2 separate regions of the Homo sapiens genome follow, and region 2 is linked to region 1. Evidence: promoter capture Hi-C in human tissues and cell types (Jung and others, 2019). All regions are on one chromosome and are shown on one strand. Each heading gives the region's core, a stretch centred on a gene start or on the middle of the fragment in contact. The rest is flanking DNA. Distances are from core to core; before and after follow the strand shown. Region 1 holds the start of AKR7A3 (aldo-keto reductase family 7 member A3). Region 2 overlaps TMCO4 (transmembrane and coiled-coil domains 4).

The links. The method cuts DNA at HindIII sites, captures the fragments that hold promoters and counts their contacts. A contact is called where the count stands out against the background at its distance.
Region 2: a fragment that was not itself captured here is called in contact with the fragment with the promoter of AKR7A3 in region 1 in 1 of the 25 tissues and cell types used here (bladder).

The regions. Positions count from the first base shown.
Region 1 is chr1:19,284,285-19,291,586 of GRCh38, forward strand. It overlaps AKR7A3 (aldo-keto reductase family 7 member A3), which reads right to left and starts at 4,486. Exons shown (of 7, transcript NM_012067.3): 1 at 4,212-4,486; 2 at 1,901-2,088; 3 at 1,604-1,708; 4 at 734-830; 5 at 402-501. The coding sequence starts at 4,425. LOC124903867 (a long non-coding RNA gene) reads left to right here and starts at 3,776. Exons shown (of 3, transcript XR_007065521.1): 1 at 3,776-4,076. RefSeq lists enhancers at 1-218, 3,719-4,541, 4,542-5,363. The HindIII fragment of the contact is 16,987 bases long and covers 1-7,302 here.
Region 2 is chr1:19,710,848-19,717,977 of GRCh38, forward strand. All of the region lies in intron 13 of TMCO4 (transmembrane and coiled-coil domains 4), which reads right to left. Among named protein-coding and RNA genes, the nearest start is that of HTR6, 50 kb to the left of the region's middle. The HindIII fragment of the contact is 5,014 bases long and covers 1-3,757 here.

The sequences.
Region 1 (7,302 bases), core at 3,236-5,735:
CAGGATGCTGGGCCCCTCAGCAGAGACCTCAACAAATCTTTATTCCTGAGGACTCATCAGCCTGCTCTTATTTTCCTTAGGGACACAAAGGCCGCTAAGATGGGTCAGGACTCAGCCCCAGGCCTCCTGGACCTCCCTCCAGAGCTCCTTCTTTCCTTCCTAGCAGGTGATTGCTCAGGAAAGAGCAACGACTTCAAGACCCCGAGGTCCAGGGAGTCTCCTTTCCTCCTGGAGGTCCCAAGACAACAAGAAAACCGATGGAGGGTTTGGAAATTCCCGAAGAAATTCAGGGGAGTAGGTGCAGCAGCGAGGAAAGGCCTTACCCCAGGAGCAGCCCAGGACTTCATTCCACATAAAGCTGACCCCACCCCAGCCATCCACACCAAGCACCCACAGCTTACCGATTCCTGTACATCTCTGCCCAGGTATTCCCAAAGAAGCGGCCCACGGGCTGTTTCCCATTCTTGTCCTCATACTTGTACTTGCCGGTCAGCAGGCCCCCTGAGGGAAAGCAGCAATCAGCCCCGGGGCCTAGAGTGCCCCAGAAGCTGCCACATCCCTCAGGGCTCTGGTCTAGGGGAGGGGCAGGGACCCAGGAGGGCTGAAGATGCAGCCTTTACGTCTTTGACCTCAGAGGTCAAAGTTTGTCAAACCCTCCTTGCTTCCCAGGTCCTGGGCTGGGCATCTGTGGGTCGGGAATAGGCTGAGACAGGGCCAGGAATGCTCCACGTACCAGCCAGAGGGTTGAAGGCATAGAACCTCAGTCCAAAGTGCCTGAGGCAGGGGAAGAGCTCCGTTTCCACCTGCCGGGTGATGGCATTGTACATGCCCTGTAAGGAGAGGGGCCCCGGGGGAGAGGGTGGATGTGTCAAAAGAAGAGACTTCAAAATTACCCTTCCAGAACCCTTATTTCAGACCTTAACAATTCTAGGACTTTAACCGTCTGGGCGTATACTTATTCTAACTGGTGCTGGTGAAAGAAGCTTATGCCCATGGAAAATTCATTCATTCTGCCAACTTTCATGAGCACCAACTATGGGCTGGTTGTCAGATTTAGATTCTTAAGCCAAAAGGACAGGGTCCCTTCCCTCAAGGTTTTATAATAAGGTCAAGTATAAACAGTTATAATCAAGTCATGAGGCAATCATAATAGACTAGAAAGTTCTGTGACCAGTGCCTGGCACCAAGCAGGTGTGCAAATATTTGTGCAATGAATCATGAGGAGGTAAACAAGGACCTGAGGTCTCAGGGTCTTCTGGGCCCATCTAGAAAGGCTTCCAGAGGAAGAGACACGTATGTGAGACCTGAACCATTCTCTCACGGAAGGGGCGGTGGTGGGGGAAGGGCTTGTTCCAGGCTGAGTGCAGGGGAAGGTAGGGAAGGAAGGGTCCAAGGTGCACAGATAGGCAGGAAGGAAGCAGATGCCCAGTGGCCAGCCTGAGGAGCTTGAATGGCATCCTGAGGGTACCTGGGAGCCATCTGCAGGCTTTCAGCAGGGGAGTGGCTGCTATGCAGAGGGCACAGGGGGCAGTCAGAGGGGCAAAGACAGCCCAGGATGAGCAGGAGTTCTGGAGACCTTGGCCTCTGCAGCCCTGGCTCTCACCTGGTACACAGTGGGCAGGATCCAGCCGTTGCTCTTGCAGAGGGTACAGATCTCGGCCACTTCCCAGGCTGCATAGTTGGAGAGGCCAAGCTCCACGAACTTGCCCTGCTCAGGTGAGGCTCCAGTCAGAACATAGTGCAGCCCAGACCAGGAAAGGGAGGCCAGGGTGGGGCCCCTGGGAGTTGGGCTGTTCCCTGCTCCACCCTGGAACAGCCCTGGTGCCTCTGCTCTCACCATTAGGATCAGGATAAGGAGAGCAGCAGTGGACCACCTCCCAGAGCTCAGGGGTCCCCTCACCTCCTGGTGCAGCTGGTGGCAGGCACGCAGTGTCTCTTCCACCGGGGTGCTGTGGTCTGGCATATGCAGGTAGAAGAGGTCCACTCGGGGACACTGCAGCCGCTTCAGTGACGTCTCCAGCTGGAACCGGAGACTGTCAGGCTTCAGGGAGTTCCCAAACAGTGGAATGGCCTTGGTATCAATTTTCACTGAGAGGAAAGAGAAATGAAATTCAGGGCCAGGCGCCGTGGCTCATGCCTGTAATCCCAGCACTTTGGGAGACTGAGGCAGGCAAATCAGAAGGTCAGGAGTTCAAGACCAGCTGGACCAACATGGTGAAACCCCATCTCTAATAAAAACACAAAAATTAGCTGGGCATAGTGGAGCCCGCCTGTAGTCCCCAGCTAGTCCGGAGTCTGAGGCAGGAGAATTGCTTGAACCCGGGAGGCGGAGGTTGCAGTGAGCCGAGATTGTGCCACAGCACAATGTCTCACAGAGTGAGACTTCTCAAAAAACAAACAAACAAACAAAACAAACAACAAAAAAAAAGAATCTTAGTTCCTAGTGAACTGGACTAACAGGTGAGTGGAGAGTCCTCTTCCCACTTTTCACACTTAGAAAGTCACCTAGGCTGGCAGGAGGGCAGTCACTGGAGCCCTTGAGGCCTAGCAAAGAGCAGGTTTGAGGAACTATTCATATGGAATTTTTCCATTCCACCACCACCCCTCTGCTTCTCAATTGAATTTAACTTCAGATCAGATCTGAGGACTTTCGCCAGCCAACCTTGGACTCAGACAGAAGACAAAGAAGGATTAAAAAAGGAAAGAAAAAAAAATCAGAAATAAGGGCCAGGCAGAGGGTACAGATCTGTGGTGGCTCACACCTGTAATCTCAGCACTTTGGGAGGCCAGAGCAGGAGGATCACTTGAGCTCAGGGGTTTAAGACCAGCCTGGGCAACAAAGTGAGACTCCAGTTTCAATGAATAATACAAAAAATTAGCCGGGTGTGGTGCTACTGTAGTAGTCCCAGCTACTCAGGAGACTGAGGTGGGAGGATGGCTTGAGCCCTGAGAGGTCAAAGCTGCAATGAGCCCTATCGCACCACTCCACTCCAGCCTGGGCAAAAAAGCAAGACCCTGTCTCAAAAAAAAAAAAAAAATCAGAAATATGGTTAGAGCTCTCACTGAGTGGCAGCCGGGTGATCTAGAAAGAGCGTGGCACTGGGATGCACGCACAGGCCAGGTTCGTTCTGGATCTACCATGTGGTGAATCAGAGGAGAAATAAGACTCCACTCAGACACTCAGTGGAAGGAGGCAAATGGTGCTAATACTAAGAACAAACAAACAGCTAACATTTCCCAGCCCTCACTATGTGCCTGCCAGGCATCGGCCTAAGCACTGCAAATGGCATCAGACTGAGGGCGGCTCCTCCTGCCCCTATACACACATCCTCCCCTCCGGCCACACCTGCCTCCTCCAGCACCCGCGGCATTGCCAAAACACATTTGCCTTTCCACACCCATGCCCACTGCCCTGACGCCCTTGCCCCTTGTACTCTTCCTGGCAAACTCCTATCCATTCTTTCTTCACGGGGTCCCTCCCAGGAAGGGGTCACTCTGGGCTCCCCAGCCATCTCTAGAACTGGAGCTTCCTGGAGTGGGTTAGTGTCCATTTCTCTCCAATAGCCTCCGACAGAGCCTCCCACAGAGAGGGCAGTGAGACTCTGTACCACCCCAATCCCTCATCCCCCTGAGGGAGCTGCCAAGGCTTCCGGGCACTGCCACCCTTGTGAGGTGCCCTTGTGAGTACCACAAGGTACTCAGAGCAAAGTCCGGGGCCCCGAGCAGGCTGGCATGTGCAAAGGAGGAAGCAGATAGTGTGCTGGGTCCAAACTCTGATTTTGGACTGTGCCAGGGAGTGCCAGGCGGTAAGAACAGAATTTCTGCAGATCAGGCCCGTCAAGGGCACCTGGAGGGCACAGGTGGGGACAGGAGCTGCACAATGCCAGATCCCAGTGTTTTTTGTGCTCCAGAGAGGGGCTAGCCAAGTCATTCCAGGCAAGACCAAGTCATCCAGGCGTCAGTGAGGGTGCTGGCTACCTCCCGGAAGAGAAGAGAGACGAACAGAAGAGAAGACGAGAGAAAAGTTGTCCGGAGCTAGACGTGCCTAAGGAGCCTGGTGTTCCCAAGGCTGCGAGGTGAACAGGGGTGGGGGCGGTGGGGGGGACAAAACTTTGGGTGCTGCCCCGGGGCCAGGGAGAGCGGGGCGGTACACGGCTGTGGACAGGCTCAGCTCTGCACCGTGCAGGGGGAGGATCAGGGGCCACTGTTACCTCTGCAGTCGCTGCCGCCCAGCCGGAGCCCCAGGCCGCCAAGGATGGTCTCGGACTGGCCCTCGCTGTACACGAAGGCCGTGTCTATCTCGGTGTGGCCGCGCTCCAGGAAGGCGCGCGTGACTGCGGCGCTGGTGGGCGCGTCCATGCGGCGCCCCATCTCCATGGCGCCCAGCACCGTGGCTGGCCGGGCCCGCGACAGCTGCCGGGACATGACGGCGGCAACGGGAGACTGTGACAGCCCAGGAGCCGCGCGCAGCGGTCGGAAGCACCAGGCTCGGAGCGGGCGGCCTCGTGGCTTTAGAGACGGGCTCGGGCCCCGCCCACCGGCGGGTGCAGCTGAGGGCGCGGCCGAAGGTGCCCGACGCCGCCCACGAGCTCGACTCCACGCTCGGCTACTAGGACCTTCTGCACTTGCACCGAGCAAGCAGCGAAATGGCTGTGGCTTCGTACCGGTGACTCGCGTCTTGGAGATTTTAACACTCCTCAACGTCCCCAAGGGTGAGGGGGTCCAAGGGTGGCGACTATCCCAAAAGGCGGGGACTCTTCGGGCCTCCCTGCCCCGTCGTCCCTCCTTCCTCGGCCTTGCCCCGGAGCTGTCCTGGGTTTCTGTCTCCTCCCGGAGGGAGCGCTTACGGGGTGGGGTGGACCTAGGGCTGTCGCGCCTGCCGTGTGGTCCTGGAGAATGAGGCTTACCAAAGGCTCAAGACAGCGTCCCCATGGAGTGACATGGTTAAAGTGTTGAAAGAAAAGAACTGTTGGCATTGAATTCTGTACCTAAGTGAAAAAAAACTGACTGGCTCTGGTGACTTAACGCCTGTAATGCCAACACTTTGAGAGATCAAGGCAGGAGGATCACTTGAGCCCAGGAGTTTGAACCCAGCCTGGGCAACATAGGGAGGCCCTGTCTCAAAAGAAAAAAAAAAAGATAGAAAAATGGACCAGTGCCCAGCGGCAGTGAGCTGTGATAGCTCTACTGCACTCCACCCTGGGTGACAGAGGGCAAATCTGTCTCCAAATACAAAAGAAAAAAAAAGACCAATAGACAGATGGAACAAATGAAAAACCAATAGCAAAATTGATTTAAACCCAATCATATCAATAATTACATAAATATAAATGATGTAAATGCTCACAAGTAAAAGGCAGTGATTGTTAGAATGGATAAAAAAGCAAAACCAAACTATATGGTAAATACCAGAAAGCTATTCAAATATAAAAGCAGAGATAGTTTAAGAGCAAAAAGATGGGAAAAGACATACACTGACAAAACTAAATTTTAAGAAGTTGGAATGGCTAAGTGAATATCAGACAAAGTAGATTGCAAAACAAAGAATACTGGCCCACACAGTGGGTGACATACTAGCCCACACCTGTAATGTTAGCACTTTGGGAGCCTGAGAAGGGAGGATTGCTTAAGTCCAGGAGTTTGAGACTAGCCTGGGCAACACAGGGAGATCTTATCGCTACAACAAAATTTTAAAAATTATCAAATTGTGGTAGCATGCACCTGTGGTCCCAGTTACTTGGGAGGCAGAGGTGGGAGAATCATCTACGCCTGGGAGGTCGAAGCTGCAGATTGAGACCCTGTCTCAAAACAGCAACAACAACAACAACTACCAAAGACAAAGAGGGACATACCATAATGACAAAGAGGTCAATTAATAAAGAAGATATAATTCTAAATATATATGCACCTAAGCATAGATCATCAAAATACATGAAAAACAATAATGGAACTAAAGAACAAGTAGATAAATACAAAATTATAATTGGAGATTTCAACACACCATTCTCAATAGTTGTAGAACAGTTATCAGTCATAATTTACGGAAACTCCGTAAAGGTATACAAGACTCAATGCTATGAACCAATTCCACATAAACAACATGAATAGAATATCCAACAACAGCAGGATATGCATTCTTTTCAAGTGCCCATCCACCAAGATATACCATATTTGGAGGCATAAAACAAGTCTTAATAAATGTAAAAGAGGCTGGGAGCGGTGGTTCACGCCTGTAATCCCAGCACTTTGGGAGGCCAAGGCATGTGGATTAACTGAGGTCAGGAGTTTGAGACCAGCCTGGCCAACACAGTGAAACCCCGTCTCCACTAAAAATACAAAAATTAGCTAGGCGTGGTGGCGTGCCCCTGTAATCTCAGCTACTCAGGAGGCTGAGGCAGGAGAATCACTTAAACCTGGTTGGTGGAGAGTGCAGTAAGCCGAGATCAGGCCATTGCACTCTAGCTTGGGCAACAGAGTGAGACTCCATATTAAAAATAAATAAATAAATAAATAAATAAATTTGAAAGGATTCCAATCATACAAAGTACATCTCTGAACACGATGGAATTAAACTAGAAAATAATAACACAGGCTGGGTGCGGTGGCTCACACCTTTAATCCCAGCACTTTGGGAGGCCAAGGTGGGCAGATCACTTGAGGTCAGAAGTTCAAGACCAGCCTGTCCAATATGGTGAAACCCCATCTCTACTAAAAATACAAAAAAATTAGCCGAGCATTGTGGTGTGTGCCTGTAATCCCAGCTACTCAGGAGGCTGAGGCAGGAGAATTGCTTAAACCTGGGAGGCGGAGGTTGCAGTGAGCCAAGATCGCACCACTGCACTCCAGCCTGGGTGACAGAGAAAGACTCTACCTCAAAAAAAAAAAAAAAAGAAAGAAAGAAAAAAAGAAAAGAAAAGAAAAGAATAACAGAATTTAGAGCCTGAGAGGGAACTGAAAATAAGTAAATAAGTTAACAAATAGAAGAAAAAGGAAAAATAGAAAATAATAATGGAATGATATCTGGAAAATCCCCACATATTTAGAAATTAAATAACCCATGGGTCAAATATGTAATCACAAGGAAAATTAGATCATATTTTGAACTGAATGAAAGTAAAAACAGGACATATCAAATTTTCTGAGATGCAGCCACAGTAGTGCTATGAGGGAAATTTATAGCACCACTTTGACATATTACAAAAGAAGAAATATTTCAGATCAATAATGTAAGCATTTACTTTTTTTTTTTTTTTTTTTTGAGACACAGTCTCACTCTGTCACACAGGCTGGAGAGCAGTGGTG
Region 2 (7,130 bases), core at 1-2,500, 420 kb after region 1:
TATCCCGATGTATAGACCCGGCCAAGAGCATGTGGCCTTTTGCTTTGGTAATCTCTAGCACATGTGCCAAAGTGGAGGTGGGTGAACAGATACTGCTATGAAAAAGAACAGGGGCCATGTGAAACACGACACACTTTCTAGTCTTTGATGGAGAGTTAGGCAATTGGCCCACATCCTGCTACGGGAACTCAATTTTCCCATCAGAAAGATGAGTTTGAGTTAACAATAGAACTTTGAGAAATATAGCTGCTGGTAAGCTGCAGGCGGTGAGCCAGTAGAGAACAAGAAGTTTCATTCTACGTGTACCACACATGCCTCATTTTATTGCATTTTGCTTTACTGCACTTCACAGATATTACGTGTCTTACAAATTGAAGGTTTGTGGCAGCCCTGCTTCAACTAAGTCTGTTGGTGCTATTTTCCCACACTCTGAGATCACTGGAGCAGCACTTTTAATTTCCTACAAGAAGCTTTCCTTTGCATTCACAATTTGGCTGTTTGATGCAAGACGCCTGGCTTTTGGTTTGTCTCACTTTCAACATGCCTTTCTTACTCAGCTTAATCATTTCTAGCTTTTGATTTAAAGTGAGAAATGTGTGATGTTTCCTTTCACTTGAACACTTAGAGGTCATTGTAGGGAGATTTATTTGCTTGTTTTTCAGACAGGGTCTCGCTCTGTCACCCAGGCTGGAGTGCAATGGCGCAATCACGGCTCACTGCAGCCTCGACTTCCCAGGCTCAAGTGATTCTCCCACCTCAGCCTCCTGAGAAGCTGGGATTACAGACACACACCACCATGCTGGGCTAATTTTTTGCTTTTTTTTTTTGAGACAGAGTTTTGCTCTTGTTGCCCAGGCTGGATTGCAATGGCGTGATCTCAGCTCACTGCAACCTTCACCTCCTGGTTTCAAGTGATTCTCCTGCCTCAGCCTCCTGAGTAGCTGGGATTACAGGCATGCGCCACCATGCCTGGCTAATTTTGTATTTTTAGTAGAGATGGGGTTTCTCCATGTTGGTCAGGCTGGTCTCGAACTTCCGACCTCAGGTGATCCACCCACCTTGGCCTCCAAAAGTCCTGGGATTACAGGCATGAGCCATGGTGCCCGGTAAAGTTTTTGCTAGTTTTTTTGGTAGAGACAGGGTTTCGCCATGTGGCCCAGGCTGGTCTCACACTCCTTGGCTCAAGCAATCCTCCCACCTCTGCATCCCAAAGCGCTGGGATTACAGGCATGAGCCACTGGGCCCAGCTATCCATCATGTAGGGCTATTAATTGGCCTAATTTCAATACTGTTGTGTCTCAGGGAATAGGAAGGCTGGAGGAGAGGGAGAGAGGTGGGGAACAGCCAGCTGGTGGAGCATCGGAACACACACAACATTTACTAAGTTCACCGTCTTATATGGACAATGTTTGTGGTGCCCCAAAACAATTACAATAGTAACATCAAACATCACTGATCACCATAACAGATACAATAATAATGAAAAGGCTTGGCTGGGTGCAGTGGCTCTCACCTGTAATCCCAGCACTTTGGGAGGCTGAGGCAGGTGGATCATGAGGTCAGGAGTTCGAGACCAGCCTGGCCAACATGGTGAAACCCTGTCTCTACTAAAAATACAAAAAATTAGCCAGGCGTGGTGGCAGGTGCCTGTAATCCCAGCTACTCGGGAGGCTGAGGCAGGAGAATCGCTTGAACCTGAGATGCAGAGGTTGCAGTGAGCTGAGACCATGCCACTGCACTCCAGCCTGGGCAACAGAGCGAGACTCCGTCTCAAAAAAAAAAAAAAAGAAAAAAGAAAAGGCTTGAAATATTGTGAGAATTACCAAATGTGTCACAGAGGCTTAAGGTGAGCACATGTACTAGTGAAAAGGTTTGAAATATTGCAAGAATTATCAAAATGTGACACAGGGACATAGAAGGCCATATGTCTTCTATCAGTTAGCTATTGGCGTGTGACAAACCATCCCAGAACTCAGTGGCTTAAAATAATCAGTGATTATTTCCCATGAGCCTACAAATTGGCCGGGCAATTCTGCTAAAATCATCCAGGCATGGCTGATCCCACTGGGTGCACTCATGTGTCTGCAGCCAGCTGGCAGCTAGGCTGAGGCTGGGTGGGATGAGCCAGCTTTGCTCGGTGGGGTCTCTCATCCCCCCAGGAACTAACTTGGACCCATTCTTATGGTGAGGTTCTAGGAGAGAGTGGAATTCACGTGCAAGGCCTCCTGAGGCCTAGGTTTGAAAATGGCATGATGCGATTTCCTGTGCCTTCTATGGGCCAATGCAAGTCACAAGGCCAGCCCAGATTCAAGGGGTGGGGAAACAGACTACACTTCTTGATGGGAGGGGTTTCAAGGTCACATTGTAAAGTATGTGGATACAGGCAGGGGTGGGAATTATGGCCGTTTTTTGCCATCAGTCTACCACAGATGTACACAATATGTCTGAAACACTGCAACATACTGATGGCTCATGTGTAGTGGGCAACAGGTTAAATCCATTAAGACACTAGTTCAGGATGAATCTTTCTCCAAATTCTCACCCAGGAAGAAGGGGAAGGGGTGGGGGAAACACTGGGAATGATGGCAGGCTGTTGGCAAGTGGCTGGCTTTTGGGGATGTGGTTTTGGGAGTCCTGGGCTAAGGCAGGATCCACATAAAGAACTGGAGGAGTGAGCCCAGGTAGAATCCTTTAGGCAAGATCCAGGTGGGCATGGTGGTGTGCACCTGTGGTCCCAGCTACTCAGGAGGTTGAGGCAGGAGGATGGCTTGAGCCCAGGAGTTCAAGGCTGTAGTGAGCTATGGTTGTACCACTGCACTCCAGCCTGGATGACAGAGTAAGACCCTGTCTCTAAAAATATATCAACAACAACAACAACAACAACAAAAACAAAAAAAACATGCTCCTTGAAGCGCAGAGATTCATTCTGGAAAATTCTCAGCCAATAAATTATCTCTCTCCCCTATTCTCTTTTTCTTGGGGATTTCTATAAGCAAATGTCAAACTTTAATTTAATTCCTATTTTCCATCTCTTTATCTCTCCATGATGCATTGTGGTTAATTTCTTCAAATCAATCTTCCAGTTCATTATTATTATTATTATTTTTGAGACAGAGTCTCTCTCTGTCACCCAGACTGGAGTGCAGTGGTGTGATCTCAGCTCACTGCAACTTCTACCTCCCAGGTTCAAGTGACTCTTGTGCCTCAGCCTCCCAAGTAGTTGGGATTACAGGCATACACCACCACATCTAACTAATTTTTATATTTTTAGTAGAAACGGGTTTTCACCATGTTGGCCAGCGTGGTCTCAAACTCCTGGCCTCAACTGATCCACCCACCTTGGCCTCCCAAAGTGCTGGGATTACAGGTGTGAGCCACCACACCCAGCCAGTTCATTATTTTTCTCTTTAGTTTTGTCTAAACCACTTTAATTTATCCAGTATTCATTGTAATGACTCTATTTTTTTATTTCTACAAGTTACATTTGATTTATTTTCAGATCTCCGTATTCTTTTTTTCAATGTCTTGTTCCTTCCACTTATTTTCAAAGTTTAAATTTATGTCTTTAAAAACTGTAACATACTTAGCGGGTGGGGAGGGCTTCTTCAGACCATTCTGCTGGGCACTAACGGTCTAATTCTGATTGTGTTGTTTCTGCAACCTTTCTTCATGGTGGTTTTATAAGACTGGATTGAAAACTCATCTTTACAGCTACTCATACATGGGAATCTGTGTAGCCTAGATTGAGAACCTATTTTCTCCAGAGCAGTTTTCTCTTTTAAAAAATCATTTAGGCTGGGTGCAGTGGCTCACGCCTGTAATCCCACCACTTTGGGTGGCTGAGGCGAGCGGGTCACCTGAGGCCAGGAGTTCGGGACCAGCCTGACCAACATGGTGAAACCCCGTCTCTATTAAAAATACAAAAATTAGCTGGGCGTGGTGGTGGGCACCTGTAATTCCAGTTACTCAGGAAGCTGAGGGAGGAGAATCGCTTGAACCCAGGAGGTGGAGGTTGCAGTAAGCCCAGATCGCGCCACTGCACTCCAGCCTGGGTGACAAGAGTGAAACTTCATCTCAAAATAAATAAATAAATAAATAAAAAATAAAAAGTATGGCCAGGTGCAGTGGCTCATGCATGTAACCCCAGCACTTTTGGAGGCCGAGGTGGCAGGATCACTTGAGCCAGGAGCATGAGACCAGCCTGGGCAATGTAGGAAGTCCCCACCTCTACAAAAAGAATTTGAAAATTAGCCAGGCACACCTACAGTTCCAGCTACTTGGGGGTGCTGAGGTGGGATCACTTCAGCCCGGAGGGGGTCGAGGCTGCGGAGGGTGGTGTTCGTGTCACTGTACTCCATCCTGGGTGACAGAATGAGACTGTCTCAAAACAAATTATTTATTTATTCATGTTAGAGACAGGGTCTCACTGTATATAACCCAGGCTGTAGTACAGTGGCACAATCATAGCTCACTGCAGCCTTGAACTCCTGGGCTCAAGTGATCCTTCCACCTCAGCCTCCCAAGTTGCTGGGATTACAGGCACAGGTTACCAGTCATGGCTAATTAAAAACAATTGTTTTTAGAGACTGGTTTTCATTGGGAAGGTTCTGTGAGATGATGTCTAGAATCACCTGTCACAGCGAGTATCTGATAAATATTAGTTCCTTCCACTCTTTGTATATTTGGTGCCTAATAAATGCTTATCAAGTCAAATGAAAACAAGACGGATATAACTGACGACATGAAAATTTCTCAGGATATAGGAGCAGCTGCCAAGTTCTGCACGAGCCCTCAAGGAAAGGCAGTCGGTAACTCTCCCCAGCAAGCACCCTCTGGACACGCCCCCTGGGCTGGGATTGGAGGAGGGATGGCTGCAGAAATGGCTGTGAAGTGGCCTTTTCCTCTATGAAAGTGTGCACACCAGAGAGCTGCCACCAGGTGGTGCTGTGGTGACCATGTAAGCCCCGGGCATCTCCCTGGCAGAACCCTACCCCAAGAGCTTCCTACAATGCCATTCCCATTAGAGACGGAGGGAGCGCCCTGGGAGTGGGGTCTGATCACATCCTAGAAAGCCTGCCCCTCCCTGGAGTCCCTGAGATGGAGCCATGAGTATGGGACTCTGGGCTTAGCCCTGCCTGGAGGGCAAGGCCATTTGGGTAAACCCTCAACTATAGAATTAAAGGGACAGGCCGGGTGCACTGGATCATACCTGGAATCACAGCATTATGGGAGGCCGAGGCGGGAGGATTGTTTGAGCCCAGGAGTTTGAGACCAGCCTGGGCAAAATAGTGAGACCTCTTCTCTATTTTATTTTTATTTTATTATTATTATTATTATTAATTTATTTATTTTTTTGAGATGGAGTCTCACACTGTTGTCCAGGCTGGAGCGCAGTGGCACAATCTCTGCTCACTGCAACCTCTGCCTCCTGGGTTCAAGCGATTCTCCTGCCTCAGCCTCCTCAGTAGCTGGGATTACAGGGATTACAGGTGCCTGCCACTACGCCCGGCTATTTTTTTTTTCTTTTTTCTTTCTTTTTTTTTTTTTTTTGTTTTTGCATTTTTAGTAGAGATGGGGTTTCACTATGTCAGCCAGGCTGGCCTTGAACTCCCGACCTCGTGATTTGCCTTCCTCGGCCTCCCAAAGTGCTGGGATTACAGGCGTGAGCCACCACTCTTGGCCAATTTTTTTGTTTTGTTTTGTTTTTTTTAATTAAAGGGACAGATAAAGGGTCAGTAGAAAGAACCCTGGTGTGGGTGTCAGACAGGTAAGCGGCCCTCCCTTGGCTCCATCACTTACAAGCTGTGTGACCATGAATAAATCTCCTGGGCTCCCTGCACCTGCTCTCTCGAAAAACAGGGACTGTTCTGGTGTCCTCCCTCCAGGCTGGCCGTGCAGATGGAGGAGACACCACTTGCAAAGGGCCCGACCTGAAAATGGTACTTCATCCTTCTCTTGGTGCAGTTCAACAGGTATCCATGGAGGCCCTGTCCCTGGGCATCCATGCTGGAGCCGCCAGCCTCAAGGAAGCTGAGCGGGTGAGAAAAGAGGAATCCAGGGCCGGGCGCGGTGGCTCAAGCCTATAATCCCAGCACACTGGAGGCCGAGGTGGGTGGATCACCTGAGGCCAGGAGTTCGAGACCAGCCTGGCCAACATGGTGAAACCCCATCTCTACTAAAAATACAAAAATCAGCTGGGATGGTAGTAGGCGCCTGTAATCCCAACTACTTGGGAAGCTGAGGCAGGAGAATGGCTTGAACTTGGGAGGCAGAGGTTGCAGTGACCCGAGATTGTGCCATTGCACTCCAGCCTGGGCAACATGAGCGAAACTCCATCTCAAATAAATAAAATTAATTAATGAAATTAAATTTTTAAAAAGAGGAATCCAGGACTAGAGGGTGTGTGGCTTCCCCAGCTGCAGGGAGGACTGGCTGAAGGATGGGGTGTTCAGGAGGAGGTCCCTTCCCCTCTGAGATCACACCTGGTGGAAATGGGGTCTGCCTGATTGCTGTTCCCTCTGCGCCCTGCACAGGTCCTGGGATGTCATGGCGTAGGTCACAGGAGACATTTGCTGGCTGATAGATCAATTAACTACATCAAGTGAAAATGCTACTACTGAAGGTTCAAGTCAGGGCCTGAGTCCAGGTCTCTGCTTTCTGCTGGACGGGCCAAGCCCTGCATTTTGGACCCTGTTCATCTCTCCAGCCTTGTTTCTCACAACTTCCTGGCAGAAACCTTGGCTGCAGTCACTGGCCCTTCCCAGCACATGCACCTTCCTGCCTCTGGACTTTGGGTATTGCCAGTCCTGCGCCCTCCGGCCTTCTGCCTGCCTCGAAGCCTCTCGAGGCTTACCTGTCCTTCAAAGCCTGCCCTCTCCTCCCTGGCGCCCTCCCTGCCTTCTGGAAGGAAAGGCTCCTCCTTTGAACTGCTGCAGCCCTTAAAGTCTAGGCCCTTGAGATGCAGCATTTGGTTCTGTTATTCACCTGCTTTAAGCCTGGCATCTTATTTTCTTAACTAGGTTGTAGGCTCTTTGAGGGCAGCAAGCTTGTCGGAAAAGGCAGCATAAAAGAAGGGTTAACAGGAAATGGTTTAGACATACATGAATTAGAATCCCAGGCTTGCTAATTAC